4 separate regions of the Homo sapiens genome follow, and regions 1, 2 and 3 are each linked to region 4. Evidence: promoter capture Hi-C in 16 types of primary human blood cells and fetal thymus (Javierre and others, 2016). All regions are on one chromosome and are shown on one strand. The core of a region is centred on a gene start or on the middle of the fragment in contact, and the rest is flanking DNA. Distances in the headings are between cores, read along the strand shown.

What was found. Contacts are between HindIII fragments. The CHiCAGO score rates a contact against its expected background, and 5 or more counts as called.
Region 1: a contact is called between a fragment that was not itself captured here and the fragment with the promoter of YPEL5 in region 4, in 2 of 17 cell types (activated CD4 T cells and non-activated CD4 T cells). The highest score is 5.6, in activated CD4 T cells.
Region 2: a contact is called between a fragment that was not itself captured here and the fragment with the promoter of YPEL5 in region 4, in 8 of 17 cell types (activated CD4 T cells, total CD4 T cells, naive CD4 T cells and 5 more). The highest score is 11.1, in activated CD4 T cells.
Region 3: a fragment that was not itself captured here is called in contact with the fragment with the promoter of YPEL5 in region 4 in 7 of 17 cell types (naive B cells, total B cells, activated CD4 T cells and 4 more); the score reaches 8.0 in naive B cells.

The regions. Positions count from the first base shown.
Region 1 is chr2:30,657,594-30,660,700 of GRCh38, reverse strand. No RefSeq gene overlaps it. Among named protein-coding and RNA genes, the nearest start is that of CAPN13, 150 kb to the left of the region's middle. The HindIII fragment of the contact is 3,392 bases long and covers 1-3,107 here.
Region 2 is chr2:30,716,540-30,719,918 of GRCh38, reverse strand. No RefSeq gene overlaps it. Among named protein-coding and RNA genes, the nearest start is that of CAPN13, 89 kb to the left of the region's middle. The HindIII fragment of the contact is 3,711 bases long and covers 1-3,322 here.
Region 3 is chr2:30,686,308-30,689,651 of GRCh38, reverse strand. No RefSeq gene overlaps it. Among named protein-coding and RNA genes, the nearest start is that of CAPN13, 120 kb to the left of the region's middle. The HindIII fragment of the contact is 777 bases long and covers 1,178-1,954 here.
Region 4 is chr2:30,145,256-30,148,301 of GRCh38, reverse strand. YPEL5 (yippee like 5) reads right to left here and starts at 1,295. Exons shown (of 3, transcript NM_016061.3): 1 at 1,240-1,295. RefSeq lists silencers at 182-621, 912-1,081, 1,112-1,691. The HindIII fragment of the contact is 10,963 bases long and covers 1-3,046 here.

The sequences.
Region 1 (3,107 bases), core at 226-2,725, 510 kb before region 4:
TCAGTATGATCCCCGTACCCTCTGAAAAGCAGGGTGACATGGAGTCTGTTCCCCATGGAGAGTTGTGTATGACTGAGGTTCAGGGAGGACCAGCATGCCACCCATGGTCATTTCACGAGCCTAGGGAGTCAGGGACATCCCTCCCCACCTTCCTGCTGTTTGCATATTCTTTGCCAGGTGCCACTTTTCAGTGTCTAGGAAGGAAATTTAGTTGAACCAGGACAATACATTTCTCTGGAATGATACCAAGGGGTGACTGTTAAATGACGTAGGGACCTCAAATGAAATGAACCATTCCTTTCTGAAAGAGCCAACACCTGCTTTCCAGGGGCATTCAGAGTTTGAGCTTCATTGATCATATGGCAGAATGGCTTCTACAATTTTATTATTGATCATGGAAAGTAGCCTTTTATTTTCCCTCCCTCTTTCCTTTTCAGGCTCTACTGTGGAGTGAGTTCATGCCCACTGATCCAACTTACCCCTTGCCCCTATCTTTTCCATCACTAAATCCCTAACTTCTCTAGTTTATAAGGTGCTGATTAGAAGTTCTCTGTGAGCATTTGCTCTCAGTGTCCTGGGTGGCCTTTGGAAGTCTCCCTTCACCCTGCCTCCACGGTTCTGTCTATGAATGTTCAGGATAGGAATAAATACTCTCCCAGCCAGGAGTGGCATGACAGTCCCAAGGGACAGGGTGCCTGGTACACAGTAGGAGCTCAATAAGAGTTGCTGTTATGTGGCCTTGGATGAGTCACTTGCCCTCCCTGGGCACCAGTTTTACCATCAGCTCTCATTTTTGCTAATAATGATGATGGAGGAAAAAGACAAAGAGGAGGAAGAAGAGAACACTAAGAGACACATATGAAAGATGTAGTGTATGATAGAGTGGTTGGGGAAAAGAAAGAAGAAAGAGAGGGGGATGGAAAAGCCAACCTCAAAACATAACAAAGAGGAAGATCTGCAGGAGCACAGGAGTCCCACAGTTGCCCCTACACCAAAGGGCTCCTGGGTTCCAAGTATTTGCTACATGAGAAGGAAAATCCCCCAGCCTCGTCTTTCCTTCAACCCAACAATGGAGCCCTCCTTCCACTCCTGGAAACATGAAAGTTCACATCTCATCATGTCTCAAGCATGTCTTCTCATGTCTCATCGACTTCCACCTTGATAGAAGAGGGGTTTGTGAGATTTAGGGTGTGGGAACCTGGCCTGGGAGAGCAGCGAGAGATTAGACACCCTTTAGTGCTGACCTCTGCCTCCCTCCAATGATCAGAGCCTCAAGGTCATGCTGATGGCAAGAGCCAGTGCCTAGACTGGACAGCAAGGGTCCTGATTCCCCATCCAGTTCTTTATCCTATCTCCTGACACCCTCTACTTATGAAGGAACTTTGCTCAGCCCTTCCATTCATAGAGGGCTTCCAAGCCATGCCCACATTGACCCTTTTCAATAATTCACCCTGGGAAGTGGGTGTCGTTTCCCCATTTTGCAGGTCAAGAAGCTGAAGCTCAGCAGGATTAACTGACTTGCTCAAGTCTTGAATTCTGCCTCCTTAATACATAGCTGAACCACTTCTTTGTGGCAAACTCTGCACCATGCTGAGCTCAAAGTGATTAAATTGGGTCTTGAGTCCTGAGTTGAGGGAATGATGCATTGATTCTTCCCTTGGTTCCTGGAAGTCTTCTAGCTCTAAGGAGACAATGGCTGCTGTGACTTGTCCCTTCCCAGGGTGCTGTAGAGGAACCTGGAGCCCCTGGTACCCATCTGCTTGACCTGGGGGCTGCAGAATATGCCTTAGGCTGTGACTCTTGGGATTCCACACCAGCCTCGTCAGCACTTTGTGTGCCTGACTTCCATCTTCCAGTCTTGGCCTGGGGGAATCCATTTTCCTACTGTTCCGGAGACTTCCACACTGAGTGTCCAGAGGGCTGGACTTCCACAGAGGGTTTTTTTTCCTATGGTATGGGGATACCATGCCTGTATAAAGTGTTGGCCCTGGAGCTTTGGCTACCAAGATGCCAAAATCTCTTTATATTTGAGTCTTTATAAAACCAAATTTTCTTCTGGAGGTGCTCCCATGTCACAATATATACCAAAAACATGACTTGCACCCTTGCATTTCTCCAGCCACTGGGGTGGGACAACAAAGGGGAAGTTCATGGAGAGGTCTATGGAAAACTGATGCCTTCATCTAGTTACCTTCTCTGCCGGTCCACAGTCAATCTTCTGGTTGAGGGTCTAGAGCCTTTATTAGTCAGGAACGCCAGAAGTCAGGGTGACAAGCTAGATGGGAAGCAGAAAAGAGCGAGGACAAGCTGGGACCTGCCAGACACGTTTGCATCTGTTTCACACCATATGCAACCACGACAATTTTCAGAGAGTAATGGCCTCTGCTTCACTTCTGTCTTCCAAATCTCTTACCAGTTGCTGTTTGGCCAATTCTATATGGCTCCTATAACGTGGAGCCATACAGGGAAAAGAATTCTGGGAGTATAGCCCCCAGCTTAACCAAATTAACACAGCACCATCCAACATAGTGTACTTTAGCAAATCACTTCCCTCTGAGTCTTTATTCCTCTTCAGTAAAATAGGGGAAATAATACTAACAATAATCTAACTCAGACTATTGATTAAATAAGAAATATATGCATAGTCTGGCATATTCTAAGTACTCAGTGCTGATATGGTTTGGCTGTGTCTCCACCCAAATCTCATCTCGAATTGTAGTTTCCATAATCCCCACATGTCATGAGAGGGACCAGTAGGGGGTAATTTAATCATGGGGGCAGTTACCTCCATGCTGTTCTCGTGATAGTGAATGAGTTCTCACAAGATCTGATGGTTTTATAAAGAGCCTTCCCCCCACTTCGCTCTGCACTTCTCCTTGCTGCTGCCTTGTGAAGGACGTGTTTGCTTCCCCTTCCGCCAGGACTGTAAGTTTCCTGAGGCCTCCCTAGCCATGCTGAACTGTGAGTCAATTAAACCTCTCTCCTTTAAAATTACCCAGTGGTGGGTATGTCTTTCTTAGCAGCATGAGAACAGACTAATACAAATGCATACTATTTTGCTTATTATAGAAGAAACTCATACATGCTTGTTGAATGAATGAATTGGA
Region 2 (3,379 bases), core at 218-2,717, 570 kb before region 4:
TTCAATTAGGAAAAGAGGAAGTCAAATTGTCCTGATTTGCAGATGACATGATTGTATATTTAGAAAACCCCATCATCTCAGCCCAAAATCTCCTTCAGCTGATAAGCAACTTCAGCAAAGTCTCAGGATACAAAATCAATGTGCAAAAATCACAAGCATTCTTATACACCAATAACAGACAAACAGAGAGCCAAATCATGAGTGAACTCCCATTCACAATTACTTCAAAGAGAATAAAATACCTAGGAATCCAACTTACAAGGGACGTGAAGGACCTCTTCAAGGAAAACTACAAATCACTGCTCAACGAAATAAAAGAGGACACAAACAAGGGAAGAACATTCCATGCTCATGGATAAGAAGAATCAATTGTGAAAATGGCCATACTGCCCAAGGTAATTTATAGATTCAATGCCCTCCCCATCAAGCTACCAATGACTTTCTTCGCAGAATTGGGAAAAAGTATTTTAAAGTTCATATGGAACCAAAAAGAGCCCACATTGCCAAGACAATCCTCAGCCAAAAGAACAAAGCTGGAGGCATCACGCTACCTGACTTCAAACTATACTACAAGGCTACAGTAACCAAAACAGCATGGTACTGGTACCAAAACAGAGATATAGACCAATGGAACAGAACAGAGCCCTCAGAAATAATACCACACATCTACAACCATCTGATCTTTGACAAACCTAACAAAAACAAGCAATGGGGAAAGGATTCCCTATTTAATAAATGGTGCTGGGAGAACTGGCTAGCCATATGTAGAAAGCTGAAACTGGATCCCTTCCTTACACCTTATACAAAAACTAATTCAAGATGGATTAAAGACTTGCATGTTCGACCTAAAACCACAAAAACCCTGGAAGAAAACCTAGGCAATAACATTCAGGACATAGTTGGCAAGGACTTCATGACTAAAACACCAAAAGCAATGGCAACAAAAGCCAAAATTGACAAATGGGATCTAATTAAACTAAAGAGCTTCTACACAGCAAAAGAAAGTACCATCAGAGTGAACAGGCAACCTACAGAATGGGAGAAAAATTTTACAATCTCATATGACAAAGGGCTAATATCCAGAATCTACAAAGAACTTAAACAAATTTACAAGAAAAAAATCAAACAACCCCATCAAAAAGTGGGCAAAGGATATGAACAGACACTTCTCAAAAGAAGACATTTATGCAGCCAACAGACACATGAAAAAATGCTCACCATCACTGGCCATCAGAGAAACGCAAATCAAAACCACAATGAGATACCATCTCACACCAGTTAGAATGGTGATCATTAAAAAGTCAGGAAACAACAGGTGCTGGAGAGGATGTGGAGAAATAGGAACACTTTTACACTGTTGGTGGGACTGTAAACTAGTTCAACCATTGTGGAAGACAGTGTGGTGATTCCTCAAGGATCTAGAACTAGAAATACCATTTGACCCAGCCATCCCATTACTGGGCATATACCCAAAGGATTATACATCATGCTGCTATAAAGACACATGCACATGTATGTTTATTGCGGCACTATTCACAATAGTAAAGACTTGGAACCAACCCAAATGTCCACCAATGATAGACTGGATTAAGAAAATTTGGTACATATACACCATGGAATACTATGCAGCCATAAAAAAAGGATGAGTTCATGTCCTTTGTAGGGACATGGATGAAGCTGGAAACCATCATTCTCAGCAAACTACCACGAGGACAGAAAACCAAACACCGCATGTTCTCACTCATAGGTGGGAATTGAACAATGAGAACACTTGGACACAGGATGGGGAACATCACACACTGGGGCCTGTCATGGGGTGGGGAGAGCAGGGAGGGATAGCATTAGGAGATATACCTAATGTAAATGATGAGTTAACGGGTGCAGCACACCAACATGGCACATGTATACATATGTAACAAACCTGCACGTTGTGCACATGTACCCTAGAACTTAAAGTATAAAAAAAAAAAAAAAGAAGTGACAGATACAAGATTGAAGCATAAGTCCCCTGATTCGGTTACTGTGGCCTCTCCAGCAACTAGACTTTAGGCTGGTGCCCGGTAGAGCAGAGGAAAGGACTGATCTGCTTCCCTGGAGCTGGGGGTTACCCCAGTGAGGTAGCCATCTGACAGCACGTGTGCACACACACACTCACTCCAGGGCAGCTGGGTTCCAGACAGCAGCTACATGTGCATACAGACTAGCGAAAGAGTTTAAATGGTGAGGAAGGAGCAAAGTGTATCAGCCAGGTCTAGTCAGGAAAAAAAAAAAAAAACAAAAAAAACCACTCAAGGTATTTCAAGAAGGAAGGGATCTAGTCTAAGGAATGAGGCACTTAAAAAGCTGTTGGATTGGTTAAAGGAGCAAAGGCCAGGAAGGTCACCACTGACTCCCAGGCTCACCACTAGCCTTAAGAGAACCAAGAAGCTGCTACTGCTACCCAAGCCAGACACTACAGGGAGCTGCCAGTAATGGTCCTGACCTCCTGCAGCCTAACACCAGTGACTTGCAAGACAAAACCTCACATCTGCTGAAACCCACCTGACTGCACAACTTGCTGGAGGCAGAATCATATGCCTTCTGCCTCTCTTCTGCCTTCCAAATGTCACCCACATGTATCTCAAGGGTGGGACTTAAAATGTACCTGGATCTGTCCTGGCAAGGGTATTTCTCAGGCTTCCAGCCCCTGCCAAATAGGAGAGAATATAGAAAGTGGTGTAAAAGCTGCCAGGTGCCAAGAGACAACAGCCAGCACAGAGAGGACGAAAATGGAAGGAGAGATAGAAAGACAAAAAGATGGAAATGGGGACCTGAGGAAGGGAGGAAACTTTAGACAGACGAGGAACAGATAGATGAGGCATGGCCAGGAGCAATACAGACAAATTAGATGGGAGAGACAGAGGATACGACAGAAATAGGAAGACTAAAACAGAAGGAAGAAGACTGGGGCCACAGGTGCTGGTAGGAGTATTGGCGATACAGCCCAGCCACGTGAAATCCATTCCCAGTGGAAATGTTTAGTTGCCCAACGCCATCAGAATTGTTTACCTCTGTTCATCTCAGACTTCTGAGGCTGTGAGTTTCAACATTTATATATGTAGGAATTGCCTTGAGTGACTTGTTTACAATTTTGTCTGAGATCCTAATCCAGAAGGTCTGGGGCTGGCCCTGGGGATCTGTGATTTTAAAGCTCCCCAGCTGACGGCACATAGTCCTTGGGTGACATTTCAGGAATCACCGCTTTTGCAACTTCGCTGACTGGTGGCAATTCTCTAGACTGCACCAACCAGGGTGACTGTGAGATCCCTAATGAATGCAAGCTTAAGGCCTACTGTGTTCAGAGGCTTCTTACCCGTCCCACCACAACCACACTCTGCTC
Region 3 (3,344 bases), core at 317-2,816, 540 kb before region 4:
TTTTCCAGTCTGAGCCAGGAGCCCTTCAAACGGTGGGCCACCCAACAGGGACCTGGCACCACTGTGTGGTGTCTGAGAAATTGCAAACAATGATGACAGGCAGTTTCCTTCCTGAGAAGTAGGGAGGCACACGAGCCTTGTTCTCCTCTGTGCCCATTCCACCATAGGTGCAGGGGAAAAGTGTCACCCTTTCCTTGGTCTCATAGCCTCTGGGGCATTCTGTGAATGAGTCTGAAAACAAGCCATTGCAGGGAGGGAAAAATAAGCTGCTTACCCCAGAATGGCTCTCTGAAGCTCTGCCGGCCACCTCCTCCCAGGCCTTTGCAACAGAGACACCCTCCTCTGTTGACAGGGTAGGTCACCCTAGGAATCAGGCAGTTCTCTCTTAGGTGTCAGCTTGCAGCACTCCCATGAGGACAGGCTGGGTCAGGAGCCCACCCTCTGCTCTGATGAACTCCCACAGACCCAGGATGGAAAGGCCACAGACTCCCTTTTGCAGCTTTCCCTGGTGGAGGGACAGGTTGAGGGACAGGCTCCAGGCCAGAGGCACTCGGCTTCCATCCAGGGAGAAAAGCTGTGCAGACACGTTTCCCTCGCTAGTCACTAGGACTGAGAGCAGGGAATGAGTGAAGCTGGGACCAGCCAGGCCATGGTGCCAGCTGTGCCTGAAGCAAATACTAACAACAGCTATAATTAGCAGTAATGACCCGAATGGCTAGCATACTGTGCTGATGGATTTACAACAGGGGCGGTGGGGCTGTGGAGAGAATTCGAAGGGTCTGTGAACTTGAATGGGGAAAAAATTTATATCCTTATTTTCACTAACCTTCCACTGAAATTGAGTATCTCCTGCTCTTCTGAATGTAGTCAACAGGCCTCAGACATTTTAGCAGCATCTGCGACTTGCCAGTAGAAATCAAAGTTACATTTCATATCACTGCATTTGTTACGATATCTGAAATTATTGTTTAAGCTAATCACTGCTTCAGAATTATGGGGGTTGCGAGATCTGTCACTAGATCTTGTTTGTCGTGTTAACAAGAATCTGTGATGTGATATCAAAAATTTTAGCTTCTATAAAAATATTGTGATAACTGTATTTCAATGTAATTGGTGTTATCCTATGTCTTCTGTTTCATGCATTTAAAAATATAGCTCTGAGGAGGGATTCAAAGCTTCACCAGGCTGCCTTAACGAGGAAGAGAGGGGCTGCTCTACTGGCATAACCTTGAACAATGCTCCCAACCAGCCAGTGTGGGGGCAGGGCTGGAAGGACCTAGGTTGGCCTGCATACATTTTGGGGGTGCAGATCCCTTTGTTCAAAAAAAGTTTTTCAGGGGCTGGGCGCGGTGGCTCACACCTGTAATCCCAGCACTTTGGGAGGCTGAGGCAGGTGGATCACTTGAGGTCTGGAGTTTGAGACTAGCCTGGCCAACATGGTGAAACCCCATCCCTACTAAAAATACAAAATTTTGCCGGGCCTGGTGGCATACACCTGTAGTCCCAGCTACTCAGGAGGCTGAAGCAGGAGAATCACTTGAACCTGGGAGGCAGAGATTGCAGTGAGCCAAGATCGCAGCACTGCACTCCAGCCTGGGTGACAGAGTGAGACTCCGTTTCCAAAAAAAAAAAAAAAAAAAAAAAAAAGAGTGTTTCAGGAAGGCCAGCGTGACATCATATAAAGGTGGGACTGCTCTGGTAGAATTTGGGGGCAGGGGGTCCTTGGAGCTTCCTTACCCTGCCTACCGAGCCCTTTCATTAGATGCCGTCCTGCTCTTCCCCGCTTCCAAAAAAGCTCCATGGACTTCCTCAGTTTCCACAGAGCACATTTGCAAATCATGGACCTAATGCAGCCCCTGTCCAGGACCACCTCGTTGGTGGCATAACTTCCTATACAGCCCTGCCCATCGGAAGTCCAGGATGCCCTGGTTCTAGGCCCACAAGGCCTCAAGCTTGACTGTAGGCAGATCTGGGGTAGAATTTGGGGGATGTCATTTATGATCCCAGAATGAGTCCTCCCATGCATTCCTGAAAAAGACCAGGAGAAGGCTGGGCGCAGTGGCTCATGCCTATAATCCCAGCACTTTGGGAGGCCAAGGCAGGCAGATCACAAGGTCAGGAGATCAAGACCATCCTGCCCAACAGGGTGAAACCCCATCTCTACTAAAAATACAAAAGTTAGCCAGGCGTGGTGGTGGGCGCCTGTAGTCCCAGCTACTCAGGAGGCTGAGGCAGGACAATCACTTGAACCAGGGAGGCGGAGGTTGCAATAAACCGAGATTGCACCACTGTACTCCAGCCTGGGCGAAAAGAGCAAAAACTCCATCTCGAAAAAAGAAAAAGACCAGGAGAGAGAGGGGTTCCTAGCCCAGAGGGCTCTCACCAGCAGCTCAGGAGTTAAAAACATGGGCTTAGAAAGCTCTAAGTTCAAATACTTTTCCACCGCTTACTAGTGGTGTGTGCCGTCCAGCCTCCACTTTCACCTGGTAATTAGGAATAATACAATTTCCCACATTTAAAGGTTGTTTTGAGTTAAACGAAAAAATGCATGTAAAGAGCTTAGCCTGACCCAGCAAATGCTCAGTAAGTGGCTGTTGCTACCTGAGCCCTTTCTCTGGGGAAGATGTTTGCACCTGCCACAGCCTCTGCCCTCCTCATCCTTTCCCTCTAAGGCATCTCCCCATTGGAGACCACCTCCAGGCTTGTTTTCACCGTCCAGGCCTGGAACTCTTAGTCCTTCCAATCCTTTCCAAACATGTCACTTGGCATTCTCAGGGTGTTTTGGTAGCAGCAGCCACAGCTCACCCAGACGGCACACACTGTAGCTATTATCTAATCATCTAATAATTAGCTTGACATTTATAAAGGGCCTTGAGGGATAACTGCTTGGGGTAACTGCTGTTTTCAAATGCGATGGTACCGTAATTTTGCACCTGTGCCAGGCAAAATGTGAGCAAGAGGGAACAGTGACCCAAGCCTCTGCCTGCCCTCAATTGTCCTTAGTGTGTTTAAGTGGAAGCAGATTTACCCAGAAGCTAACAAAGCATAAGCGTCAAGACCCCTTACCTGCACGGTCCTGTGTTTTCTGTAAAGTTTGCAAAAGTAGCATACGTTTGCTTTTTTTTTTTTTTTTTTCTTAAAGAGGCACTTCAAAATTGTATGAGCTGCAGGTGCTACAAAACCTAACCCACTCCTGGGTTTAAATCAGAGCTGTCTCTTGGATCAGTCCTGCCTGGAAGCCTACTTTTCCTATTGTTGCCATCAAGAACTGGCAAATGGGTTTGGGGCAGAAGGTTAAGGAGGGGGCTGCACTGTGGGCTAAACATGGTGATTTGCTGGATCAG
Region 4 (3,046 bases), core at 46-2,545:
GGTTTTCCATCTGTCAAGACGACGTAGAATAAAAATCCTCAGATTACCAACAGATCTCTGTAAACAGAAAAAGTTTAAAAATAAATGAGCTGTACAGCTTCCCAGACTCTCCCTTGAAAGGGAGATTAGTTGGTATCAGGATTAAACAGATCTTTGTAGTATTTCAATTTCCCACTCCCGCTGATCCGGACACTCATTTGTCCCATCTACCTGCAGAGAAGGTACAGGAAAGGGGTTGCAAGGGCACGCCCACCCTCCCGACTGCAAGCGGAGGGAAGGCCGCAGCCCGAAGCTGGCGGAGCTGGGCCGGCCCGGGCGACCCCCGGGTGGGCTCACCCGGCAGCCGCAGTGGGGCCCGCGAGCGCCCCCGCCGGCCCAGCTGATGGAGGCCACGTGACGCCAGCCGGCCAATCGGGAGGGACCGGGGCGGCAGAGCGCGGCGGCGGCGGTGGCGGCGGGGCCTCCCTCGGCACAACAAACACGAGCAGGAAACAGCTGAGCGGGTGGCCGGGGGGCTCTCTTGGTCCCGACACCCGGCGGGCTGCCCAACCGTCACCCTGCGCTGTCAGTCCCGGGTCCTCTGGGCAGGAGGGCGGGGGAGGCGGACGTTCATGGGGGGGAGGGGGCAAAGGGAGACACCGCCCCAGCCCGGTGGCTGGGCCGCTTGGGCCGGGCGTGGGCCCTGCTCAGGACGGTTCACGCCGTGCGGTCATCGCGGCCCAAACAACTCGGTCAAGTTCCGACTTGGATTCGGGGCGGAGACCGGGCGCGCCCCCGACTATGCGACGGGTGGGGGCGGGGCAGCCGCGGCGCGGCGCGGCGGGTTGGGGGTCGCGGCCAGACCGTCCGCCCAGGGGGCGCCGTGGGCCTCGGCGGCGGGCCTCGGAGGACGCGACGGGGAAACGGGGCGGAGGCGCGGGCGCCGCGCGGAGGGGTTGCGGCTGTTGTCGCACCGGTCGCCCGGCTGCGCGGCGGGGGCGGGCCGACGGCGGCCGCCGCGCCAGGCCTCACAAAGAGCAAACAGCCCCGCGCGTCCGCCCGCGGTCCCAGCGCCGGGGCCCACCCTGAAGGATCTGGGGCGGCCGCTCTGGGACCCCGGGAAGAGCGCGGCGAGGAAGAGGCACTTCCTGCCTGGGCCCCCCACCCTGGGCCGATTCCCGAGTGCCTCGAAGCCGCCCGACCCGAACGGGCGCCTCAGTCCCCACCGGCCCCGAGTCCAGCCCCTCCCGCGGGACTCACCCTGAGCGGCGGTGAGATCCGCGGCTGCCAGCGGCTTGTCGCTCTTCAGCTGGTATGAAGCCCCTCGGCCACCCGAGTCTCCAGGTTTAGTCAGGCCCTGGCCTTGGCCCCGCCTCTCCCTGGTTGGGCCTCAACGTCAGTCACCCGGCGTGGCTCCGCCCCCCCGCAGTCAGCTCTCCCGGTTGGCCCAGAACGCCCTTTATTTCTAGGCCCCGCCCCTGTCCTCGGCCTCCTGCCTTTTTCGCGGGGCCCCGCCCCTTCTCTGGCTCACCCTCCCCCACTCCCGCACCCCTCCGCTTCGCGGCCCACCCCTCTCAGAAGCCGCAGACCCAGGGCAGGCTTGCGACAGCTCGCCCCGCCCCTGACCCAGCACCTCGGACTCGTACAGCCAATCAAAGAGGCTAACTCTGCCCCTTCTCTCGAGGCGGCCAATGTAGTCAGTCTGGGGACCCACCTCCCCCTTTCAGCTGAGCGCACACAACACAGCATCCACGTGAGTCAGCTTCTTAAAGGCGAAGGCTTGGCCTGTCTAATTGCGGCAGCTGCGAGACATCGCACGTCATTAGCGTCACCAGGTAGCGGCTGGAGCCGAGCTTCCTGATACCTAGTGAGCCGCGGTGATGACAAATGAAAACAATAAGCTGTTTCCTAGACAAACAGCTGCCTAGGTAACTAAAGTGCACCGTGTAATTCGTTTCTTGGAGGCCGTTTCCCCGACCACCCCTGGTAGAGGGCTGCCTTTTGCTTTCAAACCCCTAGCCCTCGAGTCTAAGCGCATAGGCACTCCTAAGAAACATCTGTGGATACAGGATTTTTCAACTGCGCTTGACTTTATTTACAACTCATTTGAATGTTTTTTCTGGGTAGTGGAAATGATTCTCAAAAAGATGAAGAAATTCAGTCTTCTATATGGCGAATTTCTGCCTCAGAGAGTGAGATTTGTTCATTGCAAAGAGCAGCTGTTCCCTTAACCCTTATCAATGCTTAAGATGGAAGATGTTGCTTCTCATTCCATTAGAGTTGCCCAGGTACTTACATCTCTGTTAGCTGACTTTCGGGATAAAACCAAAATATTTGATGACGCATACCTCTCAGATTAAAAATGTAGGTTAGCATTTGGGGCTAGTTTGCAACATGTTTAAAGTCATTATTGGTGGAAGAGAAGCTGCTAAGCAAATTCTAGCACTTGACTCCCGCTCATCCCCAAATCCACAAGTATTTTCATTTAGTTCGTCTGAAGTTTACCTGAGCATCAAAGGCAAAAGGACTAGTTATCTTTTAATAAGTGAGTTTTCCAGGAGATAAGTTTTTTTGTTTGTTTGTTTCAGACGGAGTCTTGCTCTGTCGCCCAGGCTCGAGTGCAGTGGCATGATCTTGGCTCACTGCAACCTCCGCCTCCCGGGTTCAAGCAATTCTCCTGCCTCTGCCTCCTGAGTAGCTGGAATTACAGGCGCACACCACCACGCCCGGCTAATTTTTGTATTTTTAGTAGAGACGGGGTTTCACCATATTGGCCAGGTTGGTCTCGAACTCCTGACCTCGTGATCCGCCCGCCTCGGCCTCCTGAAGTGCTGGGATTACAGGCATGAGCCACTGTGCCTGGCCAGAAGTTTTAAACATACAGTATTTTAGTTTATTTTCCTTTCTATTTCTTTATTTTCAATTAACAATATTTAATATAAAAGTTACACGTTTATTGTAGGAAGATCATACTGCCTCATTTGATAAGAGACTTCTGTCTTCTAACAGCTTCATATGTATCCTATTCTTCCCAAATTGAATGTATTATACATAGAAGCATATTGTA